Linked DNA regions of Homo sapiens: region 2 is linked to region 1. The links are contacts of gene promoters, found by promoter capture Hi-C in human tissues and cell types (Jung and others, 2019). All regions are on one chromosome and are shown on one strand. The core of a region is centred on a gene start or on the middle of the fragment in contact, and the rest is flanking DNA. Distances in the headings are between cores, read along the strand shown. Region 1 holds the start of SAMD5 (sterile alpha motif domain containing 5). Region 2 has its middle 130 kb from the start of SAMD5.

Evidence for each region. The method cuts DNA at HindIII sites, captures the fragments that hold promoters and counts their contacts. A contact is called where the count stands out against the background at its distance.
Region 2: a contact is called between a fragment that was not itself captured here and the fragment with the promoter of SAMD5 in region 1, in 1 of the 25 tissues and cell types used here (adrenal gland).

The regions. Positions count from the first base shown.
Region 1 is chr6:147,505,563-147,510,746 of GRCh38, forward strand. It overlaps SAMD5 (sterile alpha motif domain containing 5), which reads left to right and starts at 3,128. Exons shown (of 2, transcript NM_001030060.3): 1 at 3,128-3,825. The coding sequence starts at 3,367. RefSeq lists a silencer at 1,280-1,329. The HindIII fragment of the contact is 17,257 bases long and covers 1-4,715 here.
Region 2 is chr6:147,637,156-147,642,339 of GRCh38, forward strand. It overlaps a transcript of SAMD5 not described here. Among named protein-coding and RNA genes, the nearest start is that of SAMD5, 130 kb to the left of the region's middle. The HindIII fragment of the contact is 5,985 bases long and covers 1-5,184 here.

The DNA of each region.
Region 1 (5,184 bases), core at 1,878-4,377:
GAAGCACTTTGATAGGGCAAGCATGTTCTCGTCTGTGTCCTGATTGACTGTGTGACCTTGGGCAAGTCATTCGTCTTCCCCCAACCAGTATCCCTAATCGTAAAACGGAAATAAAAATACTCACTGCCTTCGCTGAGGATTTATAAGACAAGATGAATATGTTTAAGCCCCCAGAGGGGAAAAGGCCACATATAAGAAGGCAAAGAACTACAGACTCGTGCTGTTGGACTTTTCATACAACTTGGGAAAGAAAACAACACAACAAAACTCTTGAGCTATAGGCCGGGCGCGGTGGCTCATGCCTGTTATCCCAGCACTTTGGGAGGCAGAGGCGGGCGGATCACCTGAGGTCAGGAGTTCCAGACCAGCCTGGATAACATGACGAAATCCCGTTTCTACTAAAAATACAAAAATTAGCTGGGCGTGGTGGCAGGCGCCTGTAGTCCCAGTTACTCAGGAGGCTGAGGCAGGAGAATTGCTTGAACCCAGGAGGCGAAGGTGGTAGTGAGCCGAGATCATGCCACTGCACTCCAGCCTGGGCGACAAAGTGAGACTCTGTTAAAAAGAAAAAAAAAAAAAAAAAAGAAAAGAAAAGAAAAGAAAAAAAGAAAGAAAGAAAGAAAGAAAAAAAGACAAAAAAACTCCTGAGCTTTAAGTTTTCCAGTCCCAAAACAAACAAACAAAAAACCCCCAAACAAACAAAAATCCTCACCCCATACAACCTGCCCATTTTTTCCCCCTACATGTTGCACAGCACAGCACAGGCTGGGGACTGTGATTCGAAGGTGAGTAGCTGGACGGCTGAAGGCTGATGTTAAATTTATCCCCCCAGAATTCGAACCCCTTGCTCCATCCGTAACAGTGAGATCGTTGGCAAATTAGTTTTGATGTCTCAATCTCTTCTTCTGTAAGATATGGGATAATATTACTATTTACCATATGTGTACAGATCTGTGAATAGATGCCTGGCATACAGTAATTTCCCAATAAATATTTGCTGATAATTTCTGTTTCTTAGCAGCATCATTCAAACTGCTGAAATATTTTCTTTAAAAAAAAATCAAAGGTCCTTCTGAGATAGTATTGGGATATAAAGATAAACGTGACAAAAACATTTGTGCTTCAAAGGGGAACCAGTATAAAGCCATAAAGCCCACTTTCTTCTGCTGAATAGAATGAGTTTGGGGACAGGGACAACGCCTTAAAATGGGTCAACGCGCGGACGCGAGGGGGCACTGTGAGTCCGCTTTGGCGAGGGAGAGGCGGCGGCCCGCGCGGGGCGGGGAGGGCTGCGCCCTTCCAGCATCCCAGCGCCCAGGAGCTTCGCCACCTACCAGGGTCCGAGACCTTAACTCGGTTCCGGAAAGGGCGTCCCGGGTGACCCAAGTTTGGGGCCACAAGCAGCTCCACCGGCTCTCCGCGTTGGTCTCTCCCCTCCCCCTAAGCAGACAGTCCTTTCTGCCAGCTGTCCTTAATTTGAGATTCGTGAGTCCCGGGGTTTGGGAAACCAGAACCCCCCTGCGACTGTAGGGAACGTTTTGGGTGCGCCTATGTCGGGTATTTTCCTGGGCAAAAGGACAGAAGCTGTCATCTGATTCTTTAAGGGGTTCGTGTCCCAAGAGGGGGTTAAGCTCTCTTGGTTTAGGATAAGAGGGCCCACCTAACCACCCACCCAAATGCCAAACACACAGCAGGTCGAGAAACGACTCTGAAATCACTCCTTGTCCACTTCCCAAGGTCGGGCGAGAGACTGGCACGCCCCACGGGCAATCTTCAGAAAAAAAGGTCAGATCTGGTCCTTAAACAGCTCAGGTGCGAAGCTGAATCGCCCTTCTGCGGAAAGAGAGGAGACAGTACCTGCCCCCGCCGTCCCTCACTTCCCTTAGTCCCAAGAAGAGGTCAGACACCGGGAAATGGGGCCCAGGCGCTTGGTCTGTTCCACCTGCCACTCGAGTCCCCAGTCCCAAGAGGCTGCTCAGACATTGGCATGATGGGGAAACTCGATTGATTTTGTTACCTCCTAGAGGGAAAATGCCGTGGGCGGAGATGTCTGAGCGTCCCTTCCAACACGAGCTGGGTGGTGCTCTATTGATTTTCACGCGATCCCCGGGCGGGAGCGAGAGGATAGGCTCGGATTCCCGGGCTCCAGGACCGAACGCCTGGCAGTGTCCCCGGGGGCAAAGCCACCCCGGGAGCCCGTGCAGTATACTAGGTGGGGGGCCCGGAGAGAAAGCATAGCGCCGACGAGGGGGAGGGGCCGGGCAGAAAGGAGGGTGGGGTACCGGGTGGGACACACTGACCTAGGAGAAAGTACAACCCACCCCAAACTTTCGCAGACCCGGGAGCTTAGGAAGGGAGAGCCAGGAAGACAGCAGCCTCTCCTGCCGCCCAACGTGCCCAGCTGCAGCGAGGAGGGGCGGCGCGCAAGCCGGCTGGACCCGGGCGGTCCCCACGTTGCGCCCACCCTCCGGGCCAAAACGCCGCCGCTCGGGTCACTGAGTGGCCGCCCACGGAAGAAGTCAGATCGCCGGGCTCTGGGCTGCGTACGGGATCCGAGGAAGGGGGATTCAAACGCGGATCCGGAAGGAAGGGACACTGAACCCCGCAGCGTCCCCAGCGCCGTGGGGCGGCGGGACGTGTCCTTGGGCTGCCAGCGGGCGCGGAAGCTGGAGTCCGGCAGGGTCGGGAAGAAGTGAGCACAGACTTCCACGGGTAGAAGAGTCAGATTAAACAGAAATGTGAAAAGCAACCCAGGGCAGCCAACGGAGCCCAGCAGCGTAGAAGCCACCGGCTTCCCGCCGGGAGGACTACAGTGACTGACACTCGCGAAGACTAGGCGCTCCCAGCGGCCGCGGGTCTGCGTGGAGAAGTCGCCTCGCGGCGCGGAGCGCGCCAGCGGCGGCGGCGGCTGCCAGAGCGCGAGATGCGGCGCGCAGCCGCCGGACCGTCCCGGCTGGGAAAACTCGCGGGCGGCACTGCGCAGCGCTGACCCGGCGCAGGTCCGAGGGGTGTGCCCCGGCCCCTCCCGTCTCCGCCCCCTCCCGCGCCAGTCGCGCGCCCCTCCCCGCGGCGGCAGCGTCGGCGGCGCATCCAGGGGCGGCGCGGAGCCTTGCTCAGCCCAGCAGCCAGTGCCTGCGAGCTCCGCTGCTGCTTGGGGAATTCACTTTGCTGCTTGTTCGCTTCTCCCTTCCTCAGGCTTCTTCTGATGGTTTTCCGTCTCCTGCCCGAGCCTTTCCTTTAAAAGGAAAACTTTACTGCGATACCCTTTTCCCCTTGGAGGAGAGGATTAAAAGTTCCAAGAACTGGTGCCGCCCGTGCCATTTGGGCGCTGGGAAGGTGCTCGGCGGCGGGGTTCCCGGTCCCACCATGTGCACCAACATAGTTTACGAGTGGCTCAAAGCGCTGCAGCTTCCGCAGTACGCGGAGTCCTTCGTGGATAACGGCTACGATGACCTGGAGGTGTGCAAGCAGATCGGGGACCCGGACCTGGATGCCATCGGGGTGCTGGCGCCCGCGCACCGCCGCCGTATCCTGGAGGCCGTGCGCCGGCTGCGGGAGCAGGACGCCAACGCCGCCGGCCTCTACTTCACGCTTGAGCCGCAGCCGGCGCCCCCCGGGCCGCCCGCCGACGCCGTCCCCACCGGCCGCCGGGGGGAGCCGTGCGGCGGCCCGGCCCAGGGCACCCGCGGGGACTCTCGCGGCCACACGACCGCCCCCCGCAGCAGGGAGCTGGTGAGCTACCCCAAACTGAAGCTGAAGATCATGATCAGGGATAAGCTCGTCCGTGACGGCATCCACCTGAGCAAGCCCCCGTACTCCCGCAAGGTAAGGAGGTGCCGTCCGGGCGGCCCGGGGCGCGCGGCGGGAGGGGACACAGCCCAGCTGCCTGTGCCAAGGCTTTGCAACCCATTCCAGGTGACGACGGAGAGGCCAGGAGGCTTTGGGTATCTGGGACCCTTTTCTATGTTCTTTCTGTATTAGCCCATTATTTCGTCCTTCCTGGTGTCTCCAGTGGTTGGTAAGACAAGCCCCCGCATCCAGATGTTATCTCTAAACTAACGACCAAAACTCCGCATCCTCTCTGGTGCTCGCCTGTCAGGAATCGGACTCGCGCTGCTTCACCTGGTAGCCAGGGGGAATTCCTAACGCCCTCTATAGTAGTTTTGGGTTTGAAGAGTACCAGAAAAAATGGTTAATACCTACATTGCTTTCTACCTTCCTTTTTCTCTTTCTTTTCCTTTTTTGAGTCTTGAGAAACTCCTAAGGGAAATCGGTGAACTCTTTAAAGAGTGGAAAGTCAGGCCCTGCCTTTCTCAATTCCATAAAAAATCCCAGCGCTGCTGCAAATTTGAGAAGCTTACCATTCACATGAGCATTTTAAGAGGAAAAGTGAAGGAAGCACGTGTCAGTCCACTTGAGATGATTTCCTAAACTTGTGTATACTGGAGGCAATAAGGTGCTAAGGACATCAGAGATAATCGGGCCACAGGATGTGCTTCAGAGGTCTGGGCTGTCACGAGTTTGGTTTATTATTAAGCCAGATAAGATGAAGTAGGTACAACTGTGACTTCCAGGAAGTGTGAGTGGACCTGCATTTGGGAGAGGAGGACCGAGCACAAGTGAACTAAAGGGGAATCCTCTGCACCGGGGGCCTCAGGGAAGGAACCTGGAAGTTCCGAAATGTGGAGTGGGAGCTGGGTAATTAACAGAAAATGGTACTTCACACCAGAGCTCTGCTTCTAGCTGCGAGTCTGTTCCGTTTAGGTTTCTAGTTCAGGCGGCTGTCGGAGTAGAGGGTCCTGACTTGATAGAGAAGTAGACAGCACAGGTAACGCTCAGGATTGCAGAAGGTGCACAGGAATATGAGCACCTCAGCTTAAAAATCAAGACTTAGAAGAGCCCAGGGAGAAAATGATGGCAAACATACTCAGCTGGTGGGCCACAGAAACCCAACTCCCTAATAGGAAATGTGGATAATCTCAGTGTTGTGTGGGTATCTTGGGCCCTGGTAGTATTGCTGTAGAATCTTAAGTAAAGGCTGTAATGCCTGGAGTTAAGGAAGTTAAAGGGAAAGCTTTGTTAAGAGTAGATAACAATACCTAAGGTAGATGGGAATAAGGGGTTTAATATTATCTACTACCTTGCACGTACCATAGGCAATTCAGATCACCTGCTTGACCATGT
Region 2 (5,184 bases), core at 970-3,469, 130 kb after region 1:
ATCACTCCAGGTAGCAGGGTTCCCTCTGCCAAGCCCTCCCCATATGAACAAAGAAGAGATCCCAGGCCACAACTGAGGGAGTCCTGGTTGGGTGAGCAGAGTGCCTCATCATATTCAGCTCAGTGTGACATACCAGGCTCTCCATAAACCTCACACTTAATGGAATAAGCTCATTTCAGCTCCAGATCCCTAGTGAACTTGTGGACAAGTATGACTTTATCTCTCTGAACCTCAGCTTTCTTAAATAAAAGTGGAGCTGATAATACCTATTCATCACCCTCAGGGTTAAGGATGGAATGAAATACCTTCTATAAACAGACTTCTCTAATGTGCTTATTTGATGGGAGGGATGAAGGGCTATAAGGCTATTGCCATTTTGTGACTCCCCAGATGTGCCAAGGTATTTACATCTCAGCAGGGCTAGGCAGACCTGCAGTCTAAGTGGTAAGACATAGGCGAGGGATTATACACCTTTTCATTTTGAGAAAGGAAAAAGAAACCGTTCACCTCAGGAACACATTTTAGCTTTTCTAAATTGACCCTCATACAGTAAAATGGTATTCACCATGATGGGGACATGAGGACTTACAGGTTCATTCTCACTCTTGTGCACAGCAGCTGTTTCAGGAAAACGAATGGTAGGCTGTCATCAGAGTGCTTTTCTGAGTATGATTTAAGCATCTTCCTTTTCAAAAGCAAGTTCGGTTTTTTTTTTTTTTCATTTTAAACCAATTTAATACCTTTGTTCAGTACCAGCCATTATTATTTTCTCTCATGCACATATTTCAAATTCCTCACATGACAGTTTTGAGAAACTAATGAAAATTAGAGTGTGTTAGCATATCACATTCCTACAGAGACCTGCTAATACATTCAATTACACTTCGTAATGGTAATGGAGACTACAGAGAAAAGCTTTGCCATTTATACCTGCTTGACTGAGTGTTCTCTCTCTCTCTCCCTCCCTCTCTCTCCCCACCAAAAATTTGGGAAAAATATAGCGTAATGCAAAGGAAGTCATTTTCGATGCTATTTTTAAACGTGTCTATTTCTGAAAATGCATTGCTTCTCGATAAGAAACAGGATAGTGATGGCACACGTAACTTACTTCTTATTTATCAGTTAGGAGCATTAGCATTAGTCCATTTATCTAAACTACTGAAATTTTTCCTTCTGCTCACCAAAGACTTCAAAGAAATTTAATAAAGGTATTTTTTCTGCCTAAATATATACTTTGGCAATTTGATTTTGTTTTAAAGTAGGATAATTACATTTTCTCCATCCATTCTGTGAATCACAGCTCCCTTGTGAATTCCTTTGAAAACCCTGATGAGGAATGGAAGATGTGAGTGACTGGTGTGTGATCGTGTTGATGTTTTCTCATCTCCTGAGCCTGGTTTGAAATTCAGCTCTGCCCAGCAGGACTTGCCCTCAGTTTTGAGGCATTATTTTGAGATGTGTGGGCTCGGGTAACTGTGTGTGCGTGGCCAGTGGGTTGGCCAACTCATCTTCTGGCAAATAAGTGTGGGAGACCTCAATCCTTGATGTCAAACACTTTTATAGCCTATTATGGAATAAATTGAATGCAGATTTATTCTTCATAAATGTGTCAGTTTCAATATTTTCTGTTTTACATGATGAACTTCTGGAATTCAGAGACAGTGCTAGTAAATTGATTTTGTGTTACCTGTAATATGGATTTTGACAAAAAATTTAACAATACATTTCTTTACTAGATAATGACTTAGTAAGCTAGTGTTTTCTAATATGTTTATTAATTTGTTTGTATCAGATCAAATACTGGCTGATTTTTCCCAATGAGATCGAAAAGTTAGGACAGATATATAGACTTTGGCTGACCTGGGTGAGTTCTGTGCCAGGCATTGTGCTATCTATTGTGATTCTAAAGATAGACAAGGCGGAGTTAGTTATTTAAACTGCAAATTGCGAGTACTTGGCAAATGAAAGTTATTCATTTTCTGACCTTTTTTGAATTTTCTAGTCTTGGAATCCATGACAGGAAGCCAGAATTTCTAGCTTTGATGTGGTTTCAATTTGATGTAGTCTAAGCAGAATACTATAATTGTATGAATTAAGAAAATATAAAAGAACAATTAATGAAGTAGATAATTTTTAAAATGAGAAACATTATTCATTATTTGGTCTATGAAAATATACATGTATCCAAGATAGGATATTAAAGTTTTATTCTATGTAGCCCACACATATATTTATGCATGTGAATGGTATTTTCAATACACTTTGTGCATAGCTGTGTTCAGATCCCTCAAAGCACAGCCCGTGATGAGTAAGAAAGACTGTAGCTGCAGCTCTGGGGTCCCCGAGGAGCTATGGCTCATCCTCATCTCAGCGGGCTTCACTCCCAAGGGGTGGGTGCTACATCTCCATCCTCCCCTGTCCCAGCAACATTCTCCTCTTTTGTTAGCCAGGAATCCTGGAAGAATAGCAAGAGCAGAGGGTAGCATAAGGCTTGTGTTCCTTCCTAACTGCTGCCTTTCTGATTAGGAAGCATTGAAAAAGGTGCCTGTGTTTCCTCTGCATCTTTCTTTGGGAGAATTTTTCATGTAAATCATGAGATAAGAGTTATTCAGATTGATCAGTTTGAACATCCATTCTGTTTTGGTTGGCAGTCATGCTCTAAAAACTTCAGTGTAGATCATTTTTAATAACCATATGGAAACAAGGGCAATTTCTAATTGAGATTTTTTTTTTCTTTTCTATTAGAACAGGTTGCCACTGACTGTAAAGGGAAAGAATATTGGAAGTTATTTTTAAAGGTAGAGATGGGAGAAAGGAGTAATTTGAAATCTGAATTGTTCAGCTGCCGTCACACACATTATGGCTAAAAAGCTTCATGGTAAAGAATGACGGCTGGGCGCGGTGGCTCATGCCTGTAAATCCAGCACTTTGGGAGGCTGAGGCGGGCAGATCACGAGGTAAAGAGATCGCGACCATCCTGGCCAACATGGTGAAACCCTGTCTCTACTAAAAATACAAAAATTAGCTGGGTGTGGTGGCACGTGCCTGTGGTCCCAGCTACTCCAGAGGCTGAGGCAGGAGAATCGCTTGAACCCGGGAGGTGAAGGTTGCAGTGAGCTGAGAATCCATACCACTGCACTCCAGCCTGGTGACAGAGTGAGACTTCATCTCAAAAAAAAAAAGAAAAAAAAAATTGCCGGGTGTGGTGGTGTACACCTGTAATCCCAGCTACTCCGGAGGCTGAGATAGGAGAATCACTTGAACCTGGGAGGTGGAGGTTGTAGTGAGCTGAGATCACGCCACTGTCCTCCAGCCTGGGTGACAAGAGCAAGACTCTGTCGCAAAAAAAAAAAAAAAAAAAAAAAAAGAATAACAGACATAAAATTAAGCAGAAGTCTGCAAAATCTAGTCAAGATTCAAGGAGGAAGCCTTAAGCATGGTTAATGCTAAAGTTTTTCTCACATATTGAAGAAGGACATATTATTAACTTCAACATTTACCCAAATAAACCAGTCCCATCCCATTTAAAACAGGTTCAATGGGAAGCATCATTATTAAAATAAATAAAATTGTATGATGATGCTATTTCCTCAATACCAAAGTGGAAAAGCACCTAGAAAAGTTGCCAAGCCAAACAGCCACAGGCTTTGCAAGATTGTGCATCAATGCTATTGACCTACAAAGTTAGACCTGAGGACTTTGTCTTTAAGATCACTTAGATTCTTATCTTGTTGCTTAGCAATTAAGTATTTTTTAATTTAATGTTAGCTTCCCTTGTCCTGCCTCCTCACCTCCTCAAAAATCCCTTTGAAAATTCGCTAGACTCTTGTAGAAACTTTAAAATTGCATAATAGTAAGTTTGATTCCTTAATCCTCTGTAAACCTGCTTTAACATCCAGTAGACGTTAACAATGGTTGGACACTGATGGATAGTGATTGCTTTGTTGAATGGGGTGGGACACAGGATCTCAGAAGCTCAGCTTTTTAACCCAATCTCTAAATTCTTCTTCATATGAGAGCCTCCTGAAATGCCCAGCTCCAGCAATTAAGATATCTGATTCAAATATGGATGTCCAACATTGGAAGATTTCCTCCAAGAATTTCTTTTCTCACATTTCTTCATTTTAATGGGCTTCGGCAGCACATGATGAAATTTTCTGCCCACTTGCTGGGGAGCTCAATTTGGGGGCTTCATTGGCTACGGTGAAGTCAAAGGACCCTCATCACAATATATGTGATGGAGCAATTGACCTTTATTTGGAAGATGGACCTTTTGTACCTGGTAAAGTGAAGTGCTCAGGAGACAGCCAGAGAAAGCAGGGGCACGTCGCAGACATTTTGCATGTCAGGACAACCTTTTCAACTTGGTTTTTGCCTTGTAAAACAAACTAACTCTCTTTCTCTGTCTTTAATTTTTTTTTTTTTTTTTGCTCAAAAGTTTAATGGTTGTATGCCCATATTCTCATAAGTTTTCAAAATGTCTGTAACGAGTGTGTGTACTTTTAAATGATGATTCAGATCTTAGCTTTTTAAGAGTTATGTACATGGTTAACATCCAGCGGTCTCAAAACTCCGCTGTGCTCTTTTCTTCACTGTTGCCAAGCCTTTGTGGTTACAGAATCTTTTAACTTTACCTGTAAACTTTAAATAACTTAACTTTTAATGTTTTGAAGTAATCTTGTTTGTTTCTTTAGAGTTTGAATTCATGCTTACCTAAAATCATTTTCCCCTCAATTTATTTATAAAATGCTTAGAAGGAAATCTTATTCTTAGAATACTTATTTTTTCTGTCATACAACAATGACAGTCTAACATGAAGATGTTTGATTTATTTTCCTATTTTATTGTTCTGCTTTAATTCATACAGATCCAGAAGTAATGAATTATACCTTTTGTTAAAACTTTCTCTTTTGTTTAATGGAAAGTGAACAACAGGGTTGTTATACACACATTACAAAACTTTTTTCTTTTTCTTTGTAAGAAAATAATGAGCTAGACTGCAACCACACTGTAAGAATGTTTGTGGCATTTGTGATTATTTCTCTGTTTTAAGAAGTCCATTTCCTCTTTCTTACTTTAAAAATTGGATAAAAGTTTTTATCTTTTTGTTCTTTTCATTCTACCTATTGTCTTAGTGCATTTAATTCTATATGACAAGGGGCTGTGAAAAAGATCTCGAATAAT